Linked DNA regions of Homo sapiens: regions 1 and 3 are each linked to region 2. The links are contacts of gene promoters, found by promoter capture Hi-C in blood cells and fetal thymus (Javierre and others, 2016). All regions are on one chromosome and are shown on one strand. Each heading gives the region's core, a stretch centred on a gene start or on the middle of the fragment in contact. The rest is flanking DNA. Distances are from core to core; before and after follow the strand shown.

What was found. The method cuts DNA at HindIII sites, captures the fragments that hold promoters and counts their contacts. A CHiCAGO score of 5 or more calls a contact.
Region 1: a contact is called between a fragment that was not itself captured here and the fragment with the promoter of TMEM131L in region 2, in 1 of 17 cell types (activated CD4 T cells). The highest score is 5.5, in activated CD4 T cells.
Region 3: a contact is called between a fragment that was not itself captured here and the fragment with the promoter of TMEM131L in region 2, in 6 of 17 cell types (activated CD4 T cells, non-activated CD4 T cells, naive CD4 T cells and 3 more). The highest score is 13.9, in activated CD4 T cells.

Annotation. Positions count from the first base shown.
Region 1 is chr4:153,370,879-153,374,282 of GRCh38, reverse strand. All of the region lies in intron 4 of MND1 (meiotic nuclear divisions 1), which reads right to left. Among named protein-coding and RNA genes, the nearest start is that of MND1, 28 kb to the right of the region's middle. The HindIII fragment of the contact is 1,228 bases long and covers 1,188-2,415 here.
Region 2 is chr4:153,464,963-153,468,639 of GRCh38, reverse strand. It overlaps TMEM131L (transmembrane 131 like), which reads right to left and starts at 2,280. Exons shown (of 35, transcript NM_001131007.2): 1 at 2,119-2,280; 2 at 1,359-1,429. The coding sequence starts at 2,242. RefSeq lists enhancers at 590-649, 1,020-1,109, 604-1,269, 2,640-2,819 and silencers at 1,580-1,939, 2,310-2,409, 2,450-2,599. The HindIII fragment of the contact is 8,794 bases long and covers 730-3,677 here.
Region 3 is chr4:153,535,081-153,538,723 of GRCh38, reverse strand. The region is part of intron 3 of TMEM131L (transmembrane 131 like); the gene reads right to left. It overlaps LOC105377498 (a long non-coding RNA gene), which reads left to right. Exons shown (of 3, transcript XR_939363.3): 2 at 1,852-1,934. Among named protein-coding and RNA genes, the nearest start is that of TMEM131L, 71 kb to the right of the region's middle. RefSeq lists enhancers at 2,135-2,640, 3,155-3,643. The HindIII fragment of the contact is 4,363 bases long and covers 1-3,643 here.

The sequences.
Region 1 (3,404 bases), core at 552-3,051, 94 kb after region 2:
TTTACACACAGTAGACCCTCAAATATTTGTTCTAACTAAATGAAAAAGCTTACGGTATTTATTCCTGAGTCAATACTGATTTAGCTGATCTGCGGCCACCATATACTGACTGCCTAAAGTACCAGGCATCTTACACATACCACTTAATCCTCACTACAACCGCCTTGAAGTAGGTGTAAGCTTTCTTTCACAAACTAGGAAACCAAGGCTTTAAAAGGCTTAAGATATTTTTCTAATATTGTACAGCTGGTCAAGAAGTGAAGCTGTGATTTCCATCCATGTCTGCTTTCTAACTACTACTCTTTCCATGAAGCCATATTGCTTCTCTAAAATGATAAGTGATCTTCAGAACAATGGCTGAGGGGCACAGGGTGATACTCTCATGACTTCTCAACATCCAGTGAAAGATTAAAGTAGGTTTAGGTCTGCGAAATGGCATTAGGGTCATTTTATTTGAGTTAAAAAAATAGTTATCTATAGCAAATGCCAAGGGCTATCAACCTTTTAGAAATGACGTATCAAAACCTTGCTCTTCATTTATTTCTGGACTGCTTAGAACAGGAGGTATAGGATCTACCTATGTGTTAGCCTCTGATGTGACTTCAACTTATGAGCAGGTGTGTCAGATTAAGCTTTGATCTCCGGTACGTGAGAGTGGGGAAAGAGGGCCATGTCACAAAATACACTGGATGCCAATTCTCTCATTCAGAATTAATAAACACTGACATTAAGCTCAATTTTTTAAAAGCTAGATTCACTGTACTAACAAGAATTCCTTGCTTACTTCTATTAAGATTTGGCAAGCTTCCCCACTTTCTAAGTAGAAATTATGTGAAATCCAGAAGTAAAGAAATAAAAACCGTATATTTGACCTTTTCCCTCAAATGCAAAGAATTTCTCTGAAGTCAACCAAGAAATGCTGAATCAGCCCCCATTATGCCTAGTTTTAGGAAGAAATGATTGTCTGGTAAGAAGGTAAGTACTTGAGGCTCAATAATTATTTGTTGAATAAATAAAACACAGTTCTTGTCCTCAAGTAACTTTGAGACTAGTTGAGATAAGATGGCAGATTTAACATAACTACATAGGTAATCACACTAAATGTAAATGGTCTAGACACCCTAATTAAAAGGCAGAAATTGTCAGATTATACAAAAAAAGCAAGTCCCAACTATATGTAAGAAGCTTACTCTAAATATGAAAATACAAAAAGATTAAAAGTAAACAGAAAAAGATATGCCATGCTACTATTAAAAAAAAAAAAAGATTTCCTATAGAAAGAGTTACTCAAAAGAAAGAGTTCCTATGTAACACCAGAACAAAGAATATTACCTGGAATAAATAAGTCATTTCATAATGATAAATACATCAAGGGCACATAATCCTTAATGTCTATGCATTCAATAAAAGAGCTTAATACCTATATGTTCATCAATAAACTGTTGTATATTCATACACTGAAATTCCACTCAGCAACAGAAATGAATGAATACATAAAGCAACATGGGTAAATCTTAAAATAATTTTATTGAGTAAAAGAAGCTGGGGGTGGGGGAAAGTACACACTACGGCATGATGCCATCTATATAAAATTCTAGGAAATACAAACTAATGAATAGTGGCAGAAAGCAAAGCAAGTTTCCTGGGGATAGGAGGAGGGGAGCAGTGTAGGGAAGGAAGAGAATGATTTTACAAAGGGGAATTAAAAAAACTTTTAGGGTTGATTGGTATGTTCAATTACCTTGATTGTGGTGATAGTTTCGTGGACACATACATATGCCAAAGGTTATAAAAGAATACACTTTAAATATGAGCAGGTTTTTGTATGTCATTTATTTCTCATTAGAGCTGCTTTTAAAAAACTAAGAAGATATACACACATAAAAAGTTTTTTTTAAAAAAAATCCTATGATATCCTCTAAGATGGCCTGAACGATCCCTCTTTGCACAGGCATACCTCGTTTTTATTGTGCTTTGCTTTACTGCACTTCAGATAGCGTGTTTTCTACAAATTAAGTTTGTGGCTACCTTGAGTCAAGCAAGTCTATTGGTGTCATTTTTCCAATGGCATGTGCTCACTTCTTGTCTCTGTGTAATTCTTGCATTAAACTTTTTCATTATTATTATATCTGTCACGGTGATCTGTGATCTTGATGTTACTATTGTAATTGTTTTGGGGTGTCACAAACCATGCCCACATAAGACAGTGAACTTAATATATGCTGTGTGTATTCTGACTGCTCCAGTGACTCACCGTTCCCCCATCTCTCACCCTCCCTTGGCCTTCCCTATTCCTTGAGACAAAACAATATTGAAATTAGGCCAATTAATAACCCTACAGTGGCCTCTAAGCATTCAAGTGAAAAAACGTCACACATCTCTCATTTTCAATCAAAAGCCAGAAATGATTAAGCTTAGTTAGGAAGATACAGTCAAAAGCCAAAACAGGCGGAAAGCTAGGCCTCTTGTGCCAAAGAGCCAAGTTGTGAGTGCAAGGGAAAAGTTCCTGAAAGAAATTAAAAGTGCTAATCTAGTAAACACGCAAATGATGAGAAAGCAAAACAGCCGTATTGCTGAGATAGAGAAAGTTTTAGTGGTCTGGGTAGAGGATCGAGCCAACCACAACGTTCCCTTAAGCCAAAGCCTAATCCAGAGCAAAACCTCAACTCTCTTCAATTCTCTGTAGGCTGAGAGGTGAGGAAGCTGCACAGAAAAAGTTGGAAGCTAGAAGAGGTTGACTCATAAAGTTTAAGGAAAGAGGCCATCTCCATAATGTAAAAGTGCAAGACGAGGTTTCAAGTACTATGAAGTGAAGCAAGTTATCCAGAAGACCTAGCCAAGCTACACTAAACAAAAAATTTTCAGGGTAGACAAAACAGCCTTCTGTTGGAAAAAGATGCCATCTAGGACTTTCATAGCTAGAGAGGAGAAGTCCATGCCTGACTTTAAAGTTTCAAAGGCCAGGGTGACACTTGACACTCTTATTAGAGGCTAATGCAGCTGGTGACTTTAGTTGAAGCCAATGCTCAATGAAAACCCTAGGGCCCTTAAGAATTATTCTAAATCTACTCTGCCTGTGCCCTATAAGTGGAATAACAAAGCTCAGATGACAGCATATCGATTTACAGCATGGTTTACTGGGTATTTCAAGCCAACCGTTGAGACTTGCTGCTCAGAAAAAAGATTTCTTTCAAAATATTACTGCCCAATGACAATGTACCTAGTCACCCAAGAACTCTGAGGAAGATATACAAGGAGATTAACGTTTTCATGCCTAATAACACAATATCCATTCTGCAGCCTGTGGATCAAGGAGTAATTTCAACTTTCAAGTTTTATTATTTAAGAAAAACTTTCAGTAAGGCTATAACTGCCACAGTGACTCCTCTGACGGATCTGAGCAA
Region 2 (3,677 bases), core at 1,031-3,530:
ACTCTGTAGCCCAAAATGTCACCAGTGCCACTGTTGAACAACTCTGATATACAAAAACATAATTTTTTTAAAATAAATACATCGCGTTAAATGTCGTTCTTGCAGTAGGAATACGACGGATTTCTATTTTGTTCTTTTTATATTTCTGTATCTTCCAAACCTTCAAAAACACATGTATATTATTTAAAATCGGGGAAAAAATCCATTTGGGAATAAATTTTTAGGAGAAGGAAAAACTATCTGCTCCTCATCCTGATGGGGCCCTTTCTCAAAAGACCTGTCTCATTCAGGCTGCTGGCCTTCAAGGAGGGTCCAGGAAAATTCTCCTCTAAAATCACCTCTCTGCCTTGAAGCTGTTATTCATTAGCCCTGATCAAAATGAATATTCTAAATATCTCAAAACCAGCACTCTGAATGTTTCACATAGGAGGGAGAAAACTGAAATGTAAAACTGGACAGCCTCTCCGGTAAAGTTATAGCTAGACATCCTGTTTTTCTAAACAGCCGCAAGACACAACACAGAATTAAGTGCTGCCACCACCGTGGGAAGTAATGAACATCTTAAAAAGTACTGCACACAAGCTAAATATTTCCTTATAATTCAAGCCACTCCCACCCAAAAAATGCATTTTGGATCACTACCGTTACTGGTGAAAGGCAGTCAACAACATTATATTTAAATGTGCACACTTCACAGTCAATGGGAATTTCTTGTAAAAGTTAAAAGCTTTGCAGTACTGTATCTGTTGCAGCAATAAACCCTCTATGATGCTACAGATTCCCAATAAAACGTCAGTAATTATTTTTCTACACGCAATCATCATATCATCATACAGAGAAAAAAACCAGAAATTCAAGTTCTTAAGTGGGTGTATTTTAACAGGAATTAAGGGCACTTGGAGAAAATCCAAGATGACAATCCTTGAGAGTCACATCTCCATCCCAAAGCTACTTAACGCTAATGGCAAATACCACTCTAACATTTATGAAATCAATACTCCTGTTGTCCTCAACCTCTTAGCCACTTGCCATCCACACAGCACCAGCTCACTTAGGGAACAGTGTGCACCCAGGACACCCACGGCCGAACAGACCGCTGGCCGCTTCCCTGCTGAGGTGGCCTGGGTTCCCACCTTCTGAACTTGGGGCCGGCCTGCCTCAGGCCCTGTCACATGGCGTGGGAGGAGCCGGGAAGGCCACCGTTGCCAGGTGTTCAGGCTCGGCCCCTAACGTTTATTTGCCTTGCAAAGTGGCCCGAACGCCTGTGCCGCTTGGACAGGGGGTGGGGAGGACCGGGGGCCTCCCCGCCTCTCCTCCCTCGTACACCCACAGCCGCCCTGTCACCTGGTCGTCCTCACCTGAGTGGGCAGCAGGAGTTCCCCTTCTTCTGCCTGCCACAGCTCCACCACGTTCGGCAACGGCTCAATCGCTGCAGGAACACCAAAAAATACACCACGTTTTTAATGCACGCTAAAGAAACGCTTCCTGTTTCCCCTACCGTCCCTCCGTGCCCCCCGCCTCACCAAAACACGTCTCTTTTTCCTCCTGGGAACAGAGGCCATCCCAGGGGCGAGCCAAGGATAAAAATACAATGGGTGGGGTGTGAGCCGGCGGCCCCTCGGACGCGAAGGCGACAGCGTGCAGGCAGGCTCGGGGTGCTCGTGCTGGGGGTGGGGGGACGAAGTGGGAGTGAAGACACCCCACGAGGCACTCCGGGCTCCGCAGCCCGAGCATCTGGAGTGTGGACCCTGGGCGGCCAGGCTCGGGGGAACAAAGCTGCAGGAAGCCGGGCCGCTGCGGGGCACCCGCGCGCGCCACACAAAGCGGGGGCTGCGCCCGGGGCGCAGGGGCCCGCGCACAAAGGCTCCAGGGCGCGAGCGGCTAGCGGTCCCCAAGCCCCGCGACTGCCCCGCTCTCCAGCTGTACGGGGCAGAGAGGCGCGGGACGGGACGCTGTGGTCAGAAAATGTTATCAGCGGAGAATCGCAACAGCTTTCCTTCCTCCTCCTGCCCCTTTCCCTTTCCTCCCCTCGCCCTCTTATAGATTTCAGCAGTTCCCTAAAAGAAAGAGCGGGGGCGGGGTGGAGAGGCAGAGCGAGCCCAGCGGCGCAAGGCTGACCTTGTCCCTGAGCCCCTCCCGGGCGACAGCAGGGCAGCAGGACCTGGAAGACGCCCAGCAGGAGGTTCACGGCCGCCGCGGTGCGGCAGTAGCAGCCGGGCTGCGGGCGTCGGAGCCCCGCCATGCTGCTGCTCGCGCTCCTCTCCGTTGCTCGCCGCGCTCGCCGCTAGCTCGCTGGCGCCCCAGCTGCCTCGCCCCGGGCCCGCCCCCGTGCCGCCCCGCCCCGCCCCGCCCCGCCCCGCCCCGCCCCGCGCCGCACCACCCCCGCCGCTGCCGCAGCTGCTGCAGCTCCAGACCCGGGCGCGCCGCTTGCTCTGAGCGCGTGTGCGCCGCAGATAGGGAGGGACGGAACGCGGCGGGGTGCGGGGGAAAGTGGACAATGCGAACCCGCGGGTGCCCCGCCCCGGCGCGGAGCACATGGCCGCGGGCCCGCCCCGCAGCGCGCACTCTGCGGGGCCCGGGCGCTTTCCTCGGCTGGGACGGGGTCGCTTAGAGCTGTCCGCGGGGACTAGCGGCCCACTTTTGCCAAGTGCATTTTCATGAACTTTTGGGTGGTTGCCGCTTTGTCGAGGCGCTTGGGCCACGGTCGAGAGATTACCCTCGAGGGAAGAGGTGGCGGTGGAGGTGGGAACGAGGAGTCGCCAAGCGAGAGGCCTTGGACACAGGATATTAGTGGAAATAATGCAGTGGTTGTCAGGAAACGCGAGTGCAGCCACATGGCCACTGCCAGTTATGCAGCGAGGATATCCGGTGGCTGCAAAGTCTGTAATTTAGAATAAAAAGAGCTCTCCCAAAACCCGAGAGGCAGACCTCAGCGCCGCGTGGCGGTAGTGCGCCCGGCACCCTCTGTGGACACTGTCCAGGTCCTGACAGGTGGGGAAGACTCTTCCTAGGGGATTTATAGCTTCAAAGACCCTGCAAATACTCCCTTTTGGAATCATATTGCAAAATTCAGCCAGCCTCTCCTGAAATATGGTTGGGGTCGAGGATGTGGTTAGTTGCCTGTTTCTAACATTAGTAGGATAATGGAAGTAATACGTGGAAATACATTTCCTAGTTCCAGGTTTTGATGCCTATAACTAACAAGTCCAAAATCTGGCATCTCTTTAAGTTAACATCCTGCCTTTACCAGCGATGTCGCAAACAAGGGCTTATTCAGAAATCAATTTGCATAACCTAGAAGTATGGGCAATCTTATGATTTTTTAAAGTTAACTTACTGCTTCCACTGTAGCTTGTATGAAATTCAGAGAATATGAACAATATAGTATGAAGAGGGGAAGTGATGGGACACACCTGTTTACCTTAATCCTCTGTTTAATTGCTCCTTGTGCCTTACAAGCCAGACTATAGAAAACCAGTGCTTGCATAGCAGACACAATCCTGAGAAGGACAAAATGAAATCTAGATCCTCTTTCCTAAAGACGTAATACAGTACTGTGAACACAGTCTCACACACTGTCTGCATTTAACTCCAAACAAGGTTAAATAGTCTAATTGCTTGGCCAGACTTAACATTTAAGTAGATTAGCATAAACGTAAGTTGTTGATGTGAAAAAA
Region 3 (3,643 bases), core at 916-3,415, 70 kb before region 2:
AGCTTCCCATTCTTTTCCAACACCAGAAATTGCCAGCAGCAGCTGCTCAGCGGAACTAATACTACATGGCCTCATCACTCCAGCCCCTGCTTGCCCTGAGGGAGGCGGGTTTTTCAGCAGTGCCAGCCTTTCAGGGCGGCCAGAAGCAGAGCATCCCAATAAACCAGAAAGCTAAGTGGCTGAAGCAATAAAAGTCACTCAAACATAACCCAAATCTGATGGTAAAACAAAGAAAATCCTAAGTATGGAAAGGATGGTTCCTGCTGTCTTTCACTGGGAAAACCCATTGGTTCTGGTGGGGGCCTAGGGTGGCTTTGGCCCTGCACTGATGTAAACTGGGAAGTGCCTGCATGTGACTGGTTTAGAGCCTATCCTTCTGCTTCGTAACTAGACCTGCAGGGACGTACAAGGACCTCCATGAGATGCTTCAGGGAACCAAAGGTGGGAGGGTATTCCAGACTGATGTGGCCACACCAGAAAGAAAAGAGGTGCTAGAAGGAGCACACAGGTGACATCCCCACCTGGAAGGAACAAAGTCCTGGAAGGAGCATAGTCAATAAGAACCACTGCCATTTACATTTCAGGGAAGGCAAGGGGTAAGAATTATCCTACTCTTTGAAGATTGCTTAAAACATCCTCAAATACCGATACACATTACCTCCTTCCTGTGGGGTGGCTGGCAGGAACCTTACAAGGGAAAATACTTGTGTTCCCGCTCTACTTAAAGTTGTTCAGTGTTGTGTGAAACTGCAGAGTTCTTGCAAAATCAGAAGAGAAAAAATCAGGGAAAGTTGCATCTTGCTTCCCAGTTAGTCTAGGGAGAAAGGAGTCCATCAGATATAACACAGCAGTGGAAGAAACAATGAGGCTAAATTCCTACAGGTTTGTCAGAGGCTTTTGAACCAGAGCAACTCCATCTTAAATAGGAGCTGGGTAAAACGAGGCTGAAACCTACTGGGCTGCATTCCCAGACAGTTAAGGCATTCTAAGTCTTGGATGAGATAAGAGGTCAGCACAAGATACAGGTCATAAAGGCCTTGCTGATGAAACAGGTTGCAGTAAAGAAGCCGGCCGAAACCCACCAAAACCAAGATGGCCACAAGAGCGACCTCTGGTTGTCCTCACTGCTACACTCCACCAGCGCCATGACAGTTTACAAATGCCATGGCAACATCAGTATGTTACCCTATACGGTCAAAAAAGGGGAGGCATAAATAATCCACCCCTTATTTAGCATATCATCAAGAAATAACCATGAAAATGGGCAACCAGCAGCCCTCAGGGCTGTTCTGACTATGGAGTAGCCATTCTTTCATTCGTTTACTTTCTTAATAAACCTGCTTTTGCTTTGCACTATGGACTTGCCTTGAATTCTTTCTTGTGTGAGATTCAAGAACTCTCTCTTGGGGTCTAGATCAGAACCTCTTTCCTGTAACAGGTTCACTGGGTCCCAATCAGGAACAATCTACAAAGGTGGAGTTAACCATAAAGATGAGTACAAGAGATCATCTAATGCTCTTGTGATCAGAAGTTCAGTTTCCACTATTATAAAATTAAGGTAAGACCCTGTGATGGTTAATACTGAGTATCAACTTGATTGAAGGATGCAGAGTATTGATCCTGGGTGTGTCCGTGAGGGTGTTGCCAAAGGAGATTAACATTTGAGTCAGTGGGCTGGGAAAGGCAGACCCACCCTTAATCTGGGTGGGCACCATCTAATCAGCTGCCAGCGCAGCCAGGATATAAAGCAGGCAGAAAAGCATGAAAAGGCTAGACTGGCTTAGCCTCCCAGCCAACATCTTTTTCCTATGCTTTCTCCCGTGCTGGATGCTTCCTGCCCTGGAACATCAGACTCCCAAGTTCTTCAGCTTTGGGACTCGGACTGGTTTCCTTGCTCCTCAGCTTGCAGACAACCTATTGGACCTTGTGATCGGGTGAGTTTAATACTTTGTAATAAACTCCCCTTTATATATATACATAGAAGGGAGGGAGGGAGGGAGGGAGATAGATAGACAGACAGACAGACAAGACAGATAGCTAGATAGATCGATCGATTCTGTCAGTTCTGTCCCTCTAGAGAATCTGACTGACACAGACCCCCTAAATCCATTGTGAGGATTAAATGAAATGTGTTTGTAAAGAGTTTTGCCAAGCACCCAGCAAAGTGTTTCAGGATTTCTTTTATTAGAGGTTGTGGGGAGGTGGGCAGAATGCCTCCAACAGAACTCCAGTGCCCTGACAGCTAGAGGCTGCACTGCAGGCACTGCAGCAACTGAAGCAGGAGCCTCCCTTTCAATTCAGCTCAGGGAACTTAATTGTTCTTAATTATACAGATGCCACTCATATGCAAATCATACATGAAGAGTTTTCCTTTTAAATTGTAATTCTTCTTTCAAACCCTTGAGGCACTGAAGTGTTATTGCTGAAGATGTCTGCAAAAGAAAGAATGGCCCTGCGTGGTCCCTCAAGCCCAGGAGTCCCTCTCCACAGGCCCTCACTCCCTCTGCCCCATCAGCAGCTTGTTAACCCCCCCAGTGGCCAGGTCTGCCCCAGTCTTGCTCCTGGATTTTCAGCCCAGATCCTAACAACTTCCCCTGTCTTTCCAGCATTCTCCATCCCCAGACAAAGCACGGTATGAATCCTATGCAGATGTGCAGGAAGGCAGGGAAAAGCAAAGATCAGCTGGTAGCAACGTGGTTTTGTCCATTCAATCCTTCTCTCAATAAATACCCATTCCAAAAGAAGCAGAGCGCTCCAATAAAAATTGTGTTTTGAAGATTGTAAACAGCAACATGAAAAAAGTGCTGCCGTTGCCGTGACAAGTAAACAAAAGGAAACAAAGCTGCTGTGTGCAACAAGATTACAACTAAAAAAAATATACAAAGGAAAATGAGAAGGCAAATACCAAAATATTAACAGCAACGTTAGGATGAGTAGAATATCAGACACTTTCCTTTTGCCTGACTCTCCAAAATGGTTCTGAACCTGTGAGAATATTAAAGATGTTCAGAACGATGTGCTTTTTGAAAACTCAAGAGCAATAGGAAGGTACACTCTTCCTAAATACAGCTTATAGTTATTTCTTTTTTTGATTCAAACAGCATATTTCCACATTAATAAATTATTTAAAAGCTAACAAAAGTTAGCTTTTAAATAATTGGTTTTGTTATGTTGCTTCACTTCCCCTAACTCGCTGGCCACCTCTCAGTCTCCTCTACCACCCTTCTGAATGCAGAGACACCCCAGGCTCCAGACCCTGGTCCTCTTTTCTAAGCAATCTAAAATGACTCAATGCTTATCTGATCCAACGTGAAGGCTGTAAACACCACCCCAAATTTACATCTCTAGCCCAGCACCCTTCCCAACTGCCCATCCACATGTGCTCTGGAATGTCGAAAAGACATCCCAAAACTCAACAGGTGTGAAACTGAGCTCCTGATCTTACCCCCACACCCAACTGCCCACAGCCATCTCCGCTCAGTTGTTCAAGCCAATAACCCTGGAGTCATCCCTAACTGTTCTCTTTCTCACACCCCGCATCCCATCCATCGGAAATCCCATGAGCTCCGCTTTCACCAGGCCCACTGCCACACCTGATCCAAGCACCCATCATGTCTCTCCATCTCTTGCTTCCTGGCTGTAA